4 separate regions of the Homo sapiens genome follow, and regions 1, 3 and 4 are each linked to region 2. The links are contacts of gene promoters, found by promoter capture Hi-C in human tissues and cell types (Jung and others, 2019). All regions are on one chromosome and are shown on one strand. The core of a region is centred on a gene start or on the middle of the fragment in contact, and the rest is flanking DNA. Distances in the headings are between cores, read along the strand shown. Region 1 holds the start of MEOX1 (mesenchyme homeobox 1). Region 2 holds the start of ARL4D (ARF like GTPase 4D). Region 3 overlaps CFAP97D1 (CFAP97 domain containing 1). Region 4 has its middle 26 kb from the start of SOST.

Region 1 (3,754 bases), core at 242-2,741, 260 kb after region 2:
CCTTGGCCTGGACATGGCCCAGCTCCGCAGGGTGATATCTGGTGGGCAGTCTGCCCCAAACCTCAGCCCTCCATCTCCCCCTCACCCCTTGATTCTCCCATCCCAGCCGCAGGCCTGCTTCTCTGCCTCTAGGCTCCTGGACACATAGGGTCTTGGCTTTGGGTGGCCACCCAGGGTCCCAGCTTCAGTCTTAGCTCTCAGAGCCTTAACCTCAGCTGAACTTCCCTGGTAAGCGAGCCCTGTGGCTCTAGGACCACTTGGGGCTGGCCAAAGCATGGTGGGGAGGAGGATGACTCAATGGCAGCCTGATTCAGGAAAGCCCCTCACCAGCCCTCGCCAGTCTGCACCCAGAGGATCCATTTCACGTGTCCTCCAAATCCTGGCTGATCCTGTTTCATTCTCTTGCTGGACACCCTTTCTGGGGCCCAGGAGTGCTGGGACACAGACATGGTCCCCATCACCAGAGAATCCTAGAACTCTCAGTGGAAGAAACCCCAAAGGTAACTGGTCCAGTCTCCTGCATTTGGATGGACTAGACAGAAATTCATGCTCAGAGCACCTAGGCACAGAGAGGGTGAGTAACTTCCCCAGGGTCACACAGTAAAGGAATGATCAGCTGCTCCTGAGCCACCTACCTGAACTCTCCTTTCTCCGCCTGGATGATTTCTTCTCTGTCTCATTGGCAGTGCTCCCAAGCACCCCGTAGTCATCGCCTGGGCCTCCTGTGGTGTCCACCAGGCCCAGGCTGCTGGTCCCCATTTCCTTGGAACCCCCTGCCGGGCCTGAGTTGGGCCTGCGCCGGGCGTCTGAGACAGGGAAGTGCCAGTTGGGGGACTGTGGGAAAGCGGGGTGCTGCTCAGTGAAGATGTGCTCCTCCTGGGGCAGGCTGTGTGGGGTGGCTGCCAGGCAGGAGGCTGAGAAGTCAGGGTACGCTGCCGTCGCTGTCGCCAGGAAGTCTGGTTTCTGGTGGAAGGAGAACGGGGTGGGCGGGTAGTGGGGTAGCCCTGAGGCCCCATTGCCTTCCGAGTGGGGGTTTCGAAGGCAGCCCCAGACAGGGGCTGGGGGCTGGAGGCTCCTCATGCAGCTGCTGGCCGCGGGATCCATCTGCTGTCCGCTGCACGCCTCGGTCCTTTCAAAGATTTGATTCTTTATACTTTTTATGTTCAAATTTTTAAAAATGCAAAAGAAAAAAAACTAAATAGGAGGGAAAAATGTTCAACAGAAAATTTACCCCAGGAACCAAAAAAAAAAAAAAACCCAAAACTAAAGTCTCTCCTTAAAGTACACACACATGTGGCCAGCTACTCCTATGTGTGTGCACACACCTATGTCGGGCTTGCTCCTGCCCCTCCAATGCACCAGCCTACCTACTGGGATCCCCTGTATGTGTATTTGTCGCCAATGACACTAAACATTTTCACTGTCCCAACCCAGACGCACCAGCTGACGAGGAGTTCGTCCTGGAGCCCAGAGCAAATGCCTGCAGAGGGCTGGACCAGGGCTGCTGGGACACACTTTTAAATCCTGCGGTGGGGAGAGAGTGACAAATTTCTGAAGTGAAATGTGAGAGAGGAGAGGGAGGGGTTAACCCACACACACAAGATCCCCTCCAACCAAAACCCTAGCAGGCAACTATTAATCATCAGAAACCTTATATGCACATCTAATGGGATTTGCAGATGGAGACTTTTAAAGAAACATTGTCTGTATTTTTTTTTTAAGGAAAGAGAGCAGCACACACACACATACACACACACCGTCTTTAATGTGCCTCCTGTAACACTATGAAGTTATTTTTATTGCACTGTTAACAAAATTCCCCAAGTCTTGGATTTAGAAAAAGCCTTAAGTCAGATCCAGAATCCATCAAATGCCAAATTCCAGGGAGTGAAGTGAGGAATAAGAGCAAGAGACAAGCTTGGTGATTGCATTTGATTTAAAGGCCCTTCTACTGCTGCCTGCGAAAAAGGAAGGTGGATTAAAAGAAATCTTTTTTGCAAGTCTCAGCGGCCCACTGTGGTCTGCAGTACAAAGAAAGGCACACTCTAGAAAAAAAGAATTTCTCTCTGCCCAGAGTGACATTCTCACTTTCTCAGTAACTTAAAAAAACAATCAGATTCTTCCTTCCGCTCTTTAACCTCCAACATACATGCCAATTAGCCACACTCTTCTCTAGAGAGGTTTCAAGTCATTTTTCTTCACAGCAATGGCAAGGCTCTTAAATAAGGTCCTTGAAGTTTCTTCGGGTCTCCTCCCACCTGCTCCCTGCCCCCTTCACCTCCACCCACCTGCTTCCCTTTCTCATCCCCCAGAGGCGGAGGCTTCCGAGGAATTTGGGGTAGGGAAATAGGAATCAGGGGCTCCTCATTCCCCAAAGGAGCCTCTTTGGCAAGCAGGCACGTGGGTCTCCGGGCTGGTGCACATCACAGGGCAGCCAGCCCAAGTGCCATCTTGATGCCCAGTCTTCCTCATGGCTGCGCCCTGCTGGTCTCTCAGAGGGTTAATGCAATTTCTTGGAGGACGACATTCCTAACACCCAGGGGCCAGAACTCCTTCCCCACTGGTTATTCCCATGGCCCAGAGCAGCAGGATGGGGGCAGAAACAGGCATGGACCTTAACAGCAGCGTCTCTGCTGGCTGCTTCCAAAGACGGCGAGGGTTCCCTGAGGAGGGGCCCCTAGGTCTTAGCTCTGCAGCCTGGAGGTGGGGCCCTGGGGGGTGGGTGCAGGAGATGCTCCTAGGAGGAGCCGAAGGGCACCCAGGGATGTGGAATGAAGCCACGACTGGCCTTTAATCCAGAAACTCCAGTCAGATACACATCCTGGGAGCAGGAGCAGCTGTAAAAGATGGGGAGGGGTGTACATATGAAAAGATGTGCCCTCTTCTGGAACAAGCGGTCAGAGTGTTGTAGACCAGTAGAGTGGATGGGGTCATAGCTGTCAACCAGACTCATCTTTCTGCTTTGCCCAGGGCTTAGCTGTGGCACACACAATTCTCTGAGCCTCACAACTTTCCTAGGATGGGTAAGTAAGAATTATGTCTCCATTTTGCAGATGACAAAACCGAGGCTCAGATGGATGACTGGGCTGCCCAGACTCACACAGCTAAGAAATGGTGGAATCAGCACTTGGCCTCAGGTGTCCTGCTGTTCAGTTTGGAGCAGGCCAGATGCAGAGGAGGAGGCATGGGGTTTGAGGTTAGACGGGTCTGAGTTCAAGCCCCAGGTCTGCCACTTCCTGGCTGTGTGCCCTGGAACAAGTCACCTTATCTCTCTGAACTTCTTTTTTTTTTTTTTCTTTTTGAGATGGAGTCTCGTTCTGTCGCCCAGGCTGGAGTGCAGTGGCATGATCTCAGCTCACTGCAAGCTCCGCCTCCCGGGCTCACGCCATTCTCTTGCCTCAGCCTCCCGAGTAGCTGGGACTACAAGCACCCGCCACCACGCCCGGCTAATTTTTTGTATTTTTTAGTAGAGACGGGGTTTCACCGTGTTAGCCAGGATGGTCTCAATCTCCTGACCTCGTGATCCGCCCGCCTCGGCCTCCCAAAGTGCTGGGATTACAGGCATGAGCCACCATGCCTGGCCATCTCTCTGAACTTCTGTTTCCTCATCTGAGATGACAGTCAGAGTGGGATCTGTGTAAGGCACTTTGCACCTTACACATTTTTACCCCCACGGATTCCCACAAAAGCCTTCTGAGGCAACAGTCATTCTCATCAGCTCCGTTTCTCTCTCTCTCTTTTTTTTTTATCAGCT
Region 2 (3,552 bases), core at 245-2,744:
CCTACTCATTCCTGTGCCCCTCCTAACCAGTCCTAGATAGGGCTAAAGAACGTCTATAAACCTTTTCAGAAGCTTCCAGTTGACACATTCTCTCTCTTCTCTGAAATCCTACAAGTGCTATCTCATGATTTACAAAGACCCAATACATGTGCTGTCTCATTCTGTCATTGCCAGTCTTAAGTCTTAAGCCCTTTGAGGCCTGATTCTACAGCCGAGACATCCTCTATTTCTCCACCATCTCTCTGTCTCATTCAGAGCACACAGTATGAATGAGGTCAATAAACACAGTGTTTTTTGTTTTGTTTTGTTTTGTTTTTGTTTTTTTTGAGACAGAGTCTTGCTCTGTTGCCCAGGCTGGAGTGCAATGGTGTGATCTCAGCTCACTGCAACCTCCGCCTCCCGGGTTCAAGTGATTCTCCTGCCTCAGCCTCCCGAATAGTTGCAATTACAGGCGCCCGCCACCACACCCAGCTAATTTTTGTATTTTTAGTAGAGACGGGGTTTCACCATGTTGGCCAGGCTGGTCTCGAACTCCTGACCTCAGGTGCTTCGCCCACATCGGCCTCCCAAAATGCTGGTATTACAGGCGTGAGCTACCGTGCCCAGCCCAATAAACACACTGGTTTTTTTTTTTTGTTTGCTTTGTTTTGAGACAGAGTCTTGCTCTGTCGCCCAGGCTGGAATGCAGTGGCGCTATCTCAGCTTACTGCAACCTCCGCCTCCCGGGTTCAAGCGATTCTCCTGCCTCAGCCTCCCGAGTAGCTGGGATTACAGGCACCCGCCACCACGCCCGGCTAATTTTTGTCTTTTTATTACTGATGGGGTTTCACCCTGTTGTCCAGGCTGGTGGAACTCCTGAGCTTAAGTGATGTGCCTGCCTCAGCCTCCCAAAGTGCTGAGTTTACAGGTATGATCCACTGCGCCTAAACATACTGTTGAGTGTAACCTCAAATAGGTCATTTAACCCTTCAGGGCTTTGTGTATCTGTAAAAGGCAGACAACAGTCCCTAACAGGCTATTGCAGATAATGGGCTTAGCACTATGAAGCAGCTGTTTTATGGGGCTCCAGGTTCACCTTAGGTTTGACAATTGAATTATGAAAGATAAAGGAGAAAGACTTGTCAGCCTCTCCGAGTAGATCCTTTGGCCGAAGGAGTGTCCATGTGGGGTGGTATCTCGGCCTGGTGGAGGGGGATGCGATGGTAGTGAGAATATTAGGGTATTCATATCTTTCCTCCCGAGTCAAACGTTGCCAGGCACGTTCCTTTCGCCCCTCCCACCCTCCATTCTGCATTAATTCCAAGTTTAATTCCAAATATTAGAGTGTGGTAGAAAAGGTCAAATAGAGCAGCCACGGATTAAGCAAACGCCCCTCCGCGTATGGTGGGGGCTGCAGCGCCCGTAGCTCCACGCTCCGCCCCGCCGCCGCTGATTGTCCCGCGCCTTGTGACGTCACACGCGGGTTTTTAAGGCCGAACCCTAGGCAGGCTCTGCAGAGGCAGCGGTTGGAGGCGCGGTGGGTGTCTGCGGGGGTCTCGCGGGGCGGCTGCGGTGTTTCACCGGGAAAGGCTCGAGGAGAGCGCGGCTCACGAGAGGTAAACGGACCCTGCAGACCGTGCTGAGGCGGTCCCGGTGCCGGGCCGCTGGAGCTGGGGTCGGCCATCGGAGGAGGGCGGGCGGGCAGGAGAGTGTCGCGGGGCGGTGGGGCGAGGGTCGCGGAGTAAGGAAGGGCACCGTGTCAACGGCTTGGGGCTGCGGAGGGCGGGTGGGAGCCGGACTCAATCTCCGGTCTCAGCGTCTGCACCCTAGCTCTTAGTTTGGGGGCACTGTCGACTTCCCCCGTCCCTCGGGGATCTTGCCTGGGGGATGGCGCCATAAGCTCTGAGAAGAGGCTCTAGAAGCCCACTGTCCATGGATCGAGCCCTCACCCCCCACTTGAGTGGCCCAGGACCTGGGAGTCTCTCTAGGTCCCATCGCCCCCCTCACGACCCCCCCAGGGAGTGGGGGAACACCTCTGTTATGCCTTAAAAAAAAAAAAAAAAAGGAAAGGAATTTTAAAAATGAAGGATGGGAGGGTGATTTAGGAAGGGATCAAGAAGTTGCAAATCTTGTGTGTATTATTAAACGTCTCCTTTTTCTCCCATGACCTTTTCTTGGTTCAGATAACCCAGCTGTGCTCCCTGGAACCTTCAATTTCAAGGCCTCCCTGCCTCTACTAGGCGCCTTAGCTCACTATGGGGAACCACTTGACTGAGATGGCGCCCACTGCCTCCTCCTTCTTGCCCCACTTCCAAGCCCTGCATGTCGTGGTCATTGGGCTGGACTCTGCTGGAAAGACCTCCCTCCTTTACCGCCTCAAGTTCAAGGAGTTTGTCCAGAGTGTCCCCACCAAAGGCTTCAACACCGAGAAGATCCGGGTGCCCCTCGGGGGATCGCGTGGCATCACCTTCCAAGTGTGGGACGTCGGGGGGCAGGAGAAGCTGCGACCACTGTGGCGCTCTTATACCCGCCGGACAGACGGTCTAGTGTTTGTGGTGGACGCTGCGGAGGCTGAGCGGCTGGAGGAAGCCAAGGTGGAGTTGCACCGAATCAGCCGGGCCTCGGACAACCAGGGCGTGCCAGTGCTGGTGCTGGCCAACAAGCAGGACCAGCCCGGGGCACTGAGCGCTGCTGAGGTGGAGAAGAGGCTGGCAGTCCGAGAGCTAGCAGCCGCCACTCTCACTCATGTGCAAGGCTGCAGCGCTGTGGACGGTCTGGGCCTGCAGCAGGGCCTTGAGCGCCTCTATGAGATGATCCTCAAGAGGAAGAAGGCAGCTCGGGGTGGCAAGAAGAGACGGTGACCCAAGCCCCCCCTCCCTTTCCTCCCACCTAGTAGGGGTCTGCACACTTGGACAGCAGGGTGGGACCAGCCTGTGACCTCTCAGTCAGACTGGGGTGCAGGACCTGTCCACCTCAATGAAGGAGAGAGGAGCATGGGGTGTCCCGTTTTGGTGCCACACTGGGGTGGGGATGGGAGATGGGATGTCTTTGCATATCTCTCTCATCCTCTCTGGAGAAGTGGGCGCTGCAGGACTGTGGAGACGTAAATGTAAACTGTGACTCTACCTCGACCCTGTTTCTTATTTTTCTTCTCTGGCTAAAAATTTTTAATTGGATGTGTTTGGGGGCGGGGGGATGGAAGTGACTTGGAGAATGTGTTTGGGATGAAATAACTATCTCCCCTTCCTCTGTCCCCCAACTGGGGAGTCTCCCCAGGCTGCTTTTCTAGGAATACCAGTCACATAGTTTTTATTTTTGTGTCTGTGAAAGTGCCAAGAACCCCTCCCCACATTTGTAGATCCATGACCCTTTTTATAAGCTGTGTGTGTCCTCTGTATTATTGTTATTAACTATTTTTTAGCATTTGCCTGTAAGTTATTAAAGACTGATAACTGTAGCTCTTACCTTGGTCTGGGGCATTTTCCTCTCCTTATCTTGCCCCAGAGACAATTCAAGATTTCTATATGGGGTTGTGGCGCAGGGGGAGGGAGATTTATCTTGAAGCTGAATTTG
Region 3 (3,660 bases), core at 811-3,310, 390 kb after region 2:
AAATGGTGGCCATGTGTCTTAGTCCATTATAGGGCGCTATAGCAAATTGCTATAAACTGGTGGCTTATAAACAACAAAAATTTCTCATAGTTCTAGAGGCAAGGAAGTCCAAAGATCAAGGTGCCAGTAAATTCGGCATCTGAGGAGGGCCTGCTTCATAGACAACCATCTTTTCACTGTAACCTCACGGGGCAGAAGGAGAAAGAGGCTTCTTTCATAAGGACACTAATTCCATTAGGGTGACCTAATCAGCTCTCAAAGGCCCACCCCCTAATACCATCACCTTCATGGTTAGGATTTGAACATAAGAATTTTGGGGGACACAGGCATCTGTTCCATAGCACCATGGCTGGGGCTATGATGTGACATTCTTAAAATCAGTTCCAGAAATCTTTCCTGAGCAACTACTATGTGCTAGGTACCAGGAATAATAAAGATGAAATGAGATGTATATTTCCTTACCTCAAAGAACTCAAGGTCTTGTAGGGGAGATATTTATGGAAATAATGACAATGCAGTGTGATTAGGGATACAAAAGAAGCTCATGCAAGAGAAAGAATTTGCTGGGGGCGAGGAGATGGTCAAGATGCCATTCTATATCCTGGTATATTCTGGTATAAGTTGAAAGCTGAGAGGAGTGAGGTGACCCAAAACTTGTCGCCAGCCGTTTGTGATTTATTCACAGGGAGACCTTCCCCCAACCAGAAGTTCTCAATCCTGGTTTTACATTATAATCCTTGGGGAATTTTAAGAAAATGCCAGTGTGCACGGTTCACCTCAGATCAATGAAGTAGAATCTTCTCATGGGCAACAGGGTTGAGGACCACTGATATAAACCTGCGAATGCGGTGCATGTTTCCCGGAGTGCAGTGCAGACCAACAGGCTGTCCCAGGGGCCTGTGGGCTCAGCAGGACAGTTTACTCCCTGCACTTAGACAGTCTGGCATTTATGATCTCATGACTTCATCTCCCCCACTCGTCAAGATGAGCATTTCCTTCTTCACCCATTTCGGGGTTTTGTGTTTTTCAGCTTAAACAGAGAAACAAGGAACCGCGAGCTAGTGAGAATCACCATGGAAAACCAGGGCATTCTGAAGAGGCTTGTTGATCGCAAACCCCACTATGACCGCAGGGCATCTGAGATAGACTGGCAGGCACGTGGGCACTCATGTTATACTCCCAGACACACACAGAGTTTGTCGGTGTTCAGCCTAGAGAGAGTCTCAGAAAAATCCCTGAACAGCTAGAGTCAGATCACATGAAATGTAACAATCGTTAAAAGAAAAACCATCCAAAGCAAACAAAGCTAACAGGCACAAACCATCAAACAAACAGCTAAAACAGCTTGGTAGCAAAGCCATTATGTGTCAGTTTCATAACATAACAATTATGTGTCAGTTTCAGAAAAATAATCTAGTAGCGTCTTCCCTCACCCCTTAATTCATTAAGAAAGGCTGAATGTACAGGGATGAAGGGTATAAGATTCAGTCAGTATGCGGTTGGTTTGCTTCATTTAGGAATGACCCTTAAAAAGGCCAGGGGAGGGGAAACCATCTGTGGTGTTTTAAAAAACCTCCACTTACCGACTTTGGTCTTTAAATCTTTTCTAAGTCATCCCTGGGATTTAGAACTTCAGTAATAGCACCAATGCCCTGGCATTGACATAAACCAATTTTTTTCCTTCAAGAATTCAAGGCGCTATATCAGAAATACCACGAGATATCTTCTCTCCCAAAATGAATAGGTATGTCTCTCTTACTATCAAACACTGTGACCACAGCTGATACCAAAGCCCTGAGAACCCCATAAATGGCGAATGAGGGGCCCAGTTAAGGAGACGGATTTTGCTCTTCTCATATAATATTGACTAGTCTTCCATTCGGGAAACTTGGGGCTCTCTGACTTTATTTCTTCTCTCCATACAAGAAGGAAATGACATTGTCTTTTGTCATCATCTTTGAGGCTTTGTGGGAGTCTGAGGGGAAGTGATTTGTTCCAATAAGACATAAACTGGAAGACCTGTGGCTTTAAAATTGTGCCAAAGTTACATTCCAGGTCTCTGTCAGTATTCAAAAGTACCAGCATGTTGTCATTTTGTATTATTTAACATTATTAGTGATGACTAAGTGGTTTCCCCCACCCAAGGGAGAAAGATAAATGGACACTTAGGCGTTCCAAAGAATAGTTCTGTATAATTGATGTGTCTCCTTCTCTCTTCTCCACTGAATACAAGGTTACTCACCATGGAAAAGATACAAGAGAAGGCCCTAGGATTTCTTGGCTGCTCAGGATCTCAAGACACTCCCGACTGGCTGAATGCTCCATCTTCAGATGCTTCAATAAAGCTTGGAACATAAAATGCGTAAGTTACATTTAGGGGACCCAAAGGCTTTATGTTCTCATTCCAAAATGGGGCAGGCAGAAGGAAAGATGCAATGAGCATTTTTATTTGGGGCTATGAAAAGAAGTTTTAACGAGAGAGAGAGAGAGAAATCTGAGAGAACTCTTTAAAACATACACCATCATCACCATCCCGTGGAAGAAGAAAAGCTGGGGTGAGATCATCCAGCCACAAGTACAGCACTGTCAAAATGGAAAACGAAATCACATGACAACATCAAGGTTCAGAAAACACAAGGAACAAATGCCATTAGTTCCTCTGTGAATACACACGATCGGAAAAGAATGCCTCATTGAAGTTTCCATGGACTCTGTTCATTTATAGGGAGCAGCAGCAGTGAAAATGTCTCAAAACATACGGTGAGACAATGTTGCAGGCCTGCTATGATTGGTCATGCTAGTTTTCAGCCCAACTATATTAGTCAGCATTTGCCAAAGAGACAGACTCAATAGGAGAGAGAGAGAGAGAGAGAGAGTGAGAGAGATAGATAGAGAGTGAGAGAGAGAGAGAAAGAGAGAGAGAGAGGAGAGGATTTATTTGGGGAATTGGCTCACAAGATCATGGAAGCTAAAGAAGTCCCACCACAGGCCATCTGCAAGCTGGAGACCCTGGTGGAGCAGGGCAGACAACCCCCAAAGTGGGGCTTAGCCTGCGAGTGTTCTTGGCTTCACCCAGGAAAGAATTTAAGGGTGAGCCAGTGGTAGGGTAGAAGAAGACAGTTTTATTGAAGCAGCAGTGTTACAGCTCCATGACTGCTCCTGCAGTACAGGGCTACCCCAAAGGCAGAGAGTTTTGCAGTCATAGTTATACGTACTTTTAATTACATGTAGATTAAGGGGCGGTTTGTGCAGAAATTCTAGGGAAGGAGTAGTAATTTTTTTTTTTTTTTTTGAGATGAAATCTCACTCTGTCGCCCAGGCTGGAGTGCAGATGGCGCGATCTCAGCTCACTGCAACCTCCGCCTCCTGGGTTCAAGCGATTCTCCTGCCTCAGCCTCCCAAGTAGCTGAGACTACAGGCACTCGCCACCACGCCCAGCTAATTTTTGTATTTTTAGTAGAGACGAGGTTTCACCATCTTGGCCAGGCTGGTCTTGAACTCCTGACCTCGTGATCCGCCCGCCTCGGCCTCTCAAAGTGCTGGGATTACAGGCGTGAGCCACCATGTCCGGCCTATAGGAAAGGGTAGTAATTTTTGGGTCCTTGGGTCATTGCCCTGGAAAGGGGTGGTAACTCCTAGGTGTTGCTACGGTAATGGTAA
Region 4 (3,253 bases), core at 411-2,910, 330 kb after region 2:
ATTCTCTAAAATGTACATAAGACATCTAGGAGGACTTCATAATGATTAAGAGCAATCAACTGCTAATGCAGTGAGTGCTTATTTTTTCCAGGCACTGTACCAGGCATGCTGCTTCATTTAAATTTTGCAGGGACTTTTGAAGTAGGTCCTACCTTGATTTCCATTTTGCAAGTGAAAAGCATCACATTGAGATGTGGCCCTTCAGCCTTAGCCCTTTGATATGGTTTGGCTCTGTGTCTGCACCCAAATCTCATTTTGAATTGTGCTGCCATAATTCCCATGTGTTGTGGGAGGGACCTGGTGGGAGATAATTGAATCGTGGGGGCAGTTTCCCCCATACTGTTCTCGTGATAGTGAATAAGTCTCACGAGATCTTATGGTTTTATCAGGGGTTTCCACTTTAGCGTCTTCCTCATTCTCACTTTGCCTGCTGCCATCCATGTAAGACGGGACTTGCTCCTCCTTGCTTTCTGCCATGATTATGAGGCTTCCCTAATCACATGGAACTGTAAGTCCAATTAAACCTCTTTCTTTTGTAAATTGCCCAATGTCAGGTATGTCTTTATTAGCAGTGTGAAAATGGACTAATAGACCCTTCTTCCTCCTTGCTAAAATACTTTTTTGATGGTGATCATGAATTGGCCTTTGCGTGCAGTGAGTTTTGACTGGTCTGCCAATGCCTTTCCTTTCCAGCTATGAATGGTTTTAAAAAATATCAATGACAAGGCCCCACCTCATAACCATTAAATGCAAAACTCTGGTAGGGGCCCAGGTGTTTCTTTTCTTTTCTTTTCTTTTCTTTTTTTTTTTTTTTTGAGACGGAGTCTCTCTCTGTCGCCAGGGTGGAGTGCAGTGGCACAATCTCAGCTCACTGCAACCTCCACCTCCCAGGTTCAAGAGATTCTCCTGCTTCAGCCTCCCAAGTAGCTGGGACTACAGGTGCGTACCACCACGCCTGGCTAATTTTCTGTATTTTTAGTAGAGATGGAGTTTCACCTTGTTAGCCAGGATGGTCTCAATCTCCTGACCTCATTATCCTCCCACCTCCGCCTCCCAAAGTGCTGGGATTACAGGTGTGAGCCACTGTGCCCAGCTGGGCCCAGGTGTTTCTTAAAAGCTCTCAGGTGATTCTAATGTTGCAGCCAGGGATGAGACCATTTGTCTAAGGCAATCTGGATAACTCCTTTCCCATTAGCCAGGGATTAGCCTGTGAACTATTCTGACCAAGGAGGCATGAACTTTTCTGTTTCTGGATGTTGTCATCTGCAAATAACAGGAAGGAACCTAGGATCTGAAGATGCTGCTGAGCTGCCTGAGTAGCTCACCTGGATCCACCCTATTTCTAGACTTCTTGTTATATGGTGAATAAATGTCCTCCTGGTTTAAGACAAGGGTTGGCAAACTATGACCCAGGAGCCAAGTCTGGCCCACTGCTTGATTTTGTAAATAAAGTTTTATTGGAATACAGCCATGCCCATTTGTTTATGTATTGTCTACATATTGTTTAGTGCTACAATGGCAGGGATGCATAGTCACGACAGAGACCTTATGGCCTGCAAAGCCTCAAATATTTACTCTCTGGCCCTTGGCCCTTTGCAGAAAAAGTTTGCCAGCTCCTGGTCTAAGGGTCTTTTTGTGGGCCTTTCTATTACTTGCAGTTGAGGGTATCTGTTAATTTGGGAGTTTAGCTTCCCCAAGGTGGCATTGTTAGTGATGGCAAGTTTTGCCCCCTTTAAGCCATTTTTTCATGGGAGAATAATTACAGAATGATCTTTAAGGGATTTCAATAATATCAGCCAATCCTACTGCCCACGGGGAAGTGGGATCACACAGGTTGGGGCTTCAGATAGGCCTGGATTTATGGCCTGGTTTTATCATATAGATCCAATTGTCTTTGAAAAGTGACTTCATCTTCTAGTCCTCAACTTTCTCATCTAAAATGAGGACAGTTATATCTACACGAAGGATGGGTACCCTCATGGAGGCAATTCCAGACAAAGGGATCAGTGCAAGCAAAGGAAGCGAGGTGAAAAATCTCCAGGTCCACATGGAGAGCCGCAAGCTGCTCTGCCTGACCTAAGCCAAGAGCATAGAAAAGGGGTCATGGGGCACACTGTGGTGAAGATAGGCTGGCATTTGTTGCATAATAATTTCTCCAGTTGTCTTGGGTTTCTGAGAGGTAGCTTCTAAACCCTTGGAATTTCCCAAGTGATAGGAATGTCTTTGTTATTCATAGTGAGCCACTGGGACCATGCCTGAGTTTATACTAACAAGGTGACTCATGGTGGGCCCCTAGATAGTTTCAAGATGGGGACTAGCCATTAGGAACCAACCAAATGATTAGAGGGTTGGGGTTTTGAGCCAGATTATATCAGCCTGACTTCCAGGGAGGTTAGAGATTGAGTTCAATCACATGGCCAATTATTTGATCAATCATGCCTCGTGATGAAACACCAATAAAAACTCTGGACCTCAAGGCTCAATTGAGCCTCCTGGTGGGTGAACACCAGTGTGCTAGGAGGGTGATACATCCTGACTCCATGGGGAGAAGATATGGAAGCTCTGTGTTTGGGATCCTCCCAGACCTCACCCTATGGATCTCTTCATTTGGCTGGTCCTGATTTGTACCCTTTATAATAAAAGTGTAATGGTAAGTATAGCACTTTGCTGAGTTATGTGAGTCATTGTAGCAAATTGTCAAATATGAGGGGTTGTGGGAACCCCCAAATTTGTAGCCAGTTGATCAGAAATGCAGGTAGCCTGGGGACCCCATATTATGTGGGGTCTCTGAAGTGAGGGCAGTCTTGTTGAAGACTATGTCCTTAACCTGTGGAGTCTGTACTAACTCCAGCTCCAGGTAGTTGACACTGCAAAAGTATATACTGCTGTATTGCAGAGCTGGATTCATGAATGCCTGTTTCCAGACTTGGATTTAATTTGGTTGGTGGTGGGGAGCCATAGAAGGTTTATGAGAAGATGAATGACAGGATCACTAACTGAGATTCTGGAAGAATAATTGGGCAGAGATAAAGGCTATCTAGAGCTCTCCCTGAGTCACAGGATCTTTTGGTCATGCACTCTCAACTTTGACATGTGATGCTGGTCACCAAAGATGCTTCCTTTCAAAAATAAACAGCAGCTATAAAGGAACTCACATATATTGGTAGGGTTGGAGCCATCCCAGGGCAGGCCAGGCCTAGGAGCTACAGGAAATCCTCACTTCTGGAAGCAGAAGGTCAGTTGCTTCTTCCTG

Evidence for each region. Contacts are between HindIII fragments. The study calls those that stand out against the background at their distance.
Region 1: the fragment with the promoter of MEOX1 here is called in contact with the fragment with the promoter of ARL4D in region 2 in 2 of the 25 tissues and cell types used here (IMR-90 fibroblasts and aorta).
Region 3: a contact is called between a fragment that was not itself captured here and the fragment with the promoter of ARL4D in region 2, in 1 of the 25 tissues and cell types used here (adrenal gland).
Region 4: a fragment that was not itself captured here is called in contact with the fragment with the promoter of ARL4D in region 2 in 1 of the 25 tissues and cell types used here (H1 embryonic stem cells).

Annotation. Positions count from the first base shown.
Region 1 is chr17:43,660,431-43,664,184 of GRCh38, forward strand. It overlaps MEOX1 (mesenchyme homeobox 1), which reads right to left and starts at 1,492. Exons shown (of 3, transcript NM_004527.4): 1 at 636-1,492. The coding sequence starts at 1,104. RefSeq lists an enhancer at 245-786. The HindIII fragment of the contact is 25,285 bases long and covers 1-3,754 here.
Region 2 is chr17:43,397,499-43,401,050 of GRCh38, forward strand. It overlaps ARL4D (ARF like GTPase 4D), which reads left to right and starts at 1,495. Exons shown (of 2, transcript NM_001661.4): 1 at 1,495-1,595; 2 at 2,163-3,552. The coding sequence starts at 2,235. The coding sequence ends at 2,840. RefSeq lists an enhancer at 1,619-2,122. The HindIII fragment of the contact is 9,238 bases long and covers 1-3,552 here.
Region 3 is chr17:43,782,150-43,785,809 of GRCh38, forward strand. CFAP97D1 (CFAP97 domain containing 1) reads left to right here. Exons shown (of 6, transcript NM_001136483.3): 4 at 1,031-1,154; 5 at 1,688-1,744; 6 at 2,234-3,660. The coding sequence ends at 1,744. Among named protein-coding and RNA genes, the nearest start is that of CFAP97D1, 3.5 kb to the left of the region's middle. The HindIII fragment of the contact is 3,683 bases long and covers 220-3,660 here.
Region 4 is chr17:43,730,944-43,734,196 of GRCh38, forward strand. No RefSeq gene overlaps it. Among named protein-coding and RNA genes, the nearest start is that of SOST, 26 kb to the right of the region's middle. RefSeq lists an enhancer at 3,220-3,253. The HindIII fragment of the contact is 6,631 bases long and covers 1-3,253 here.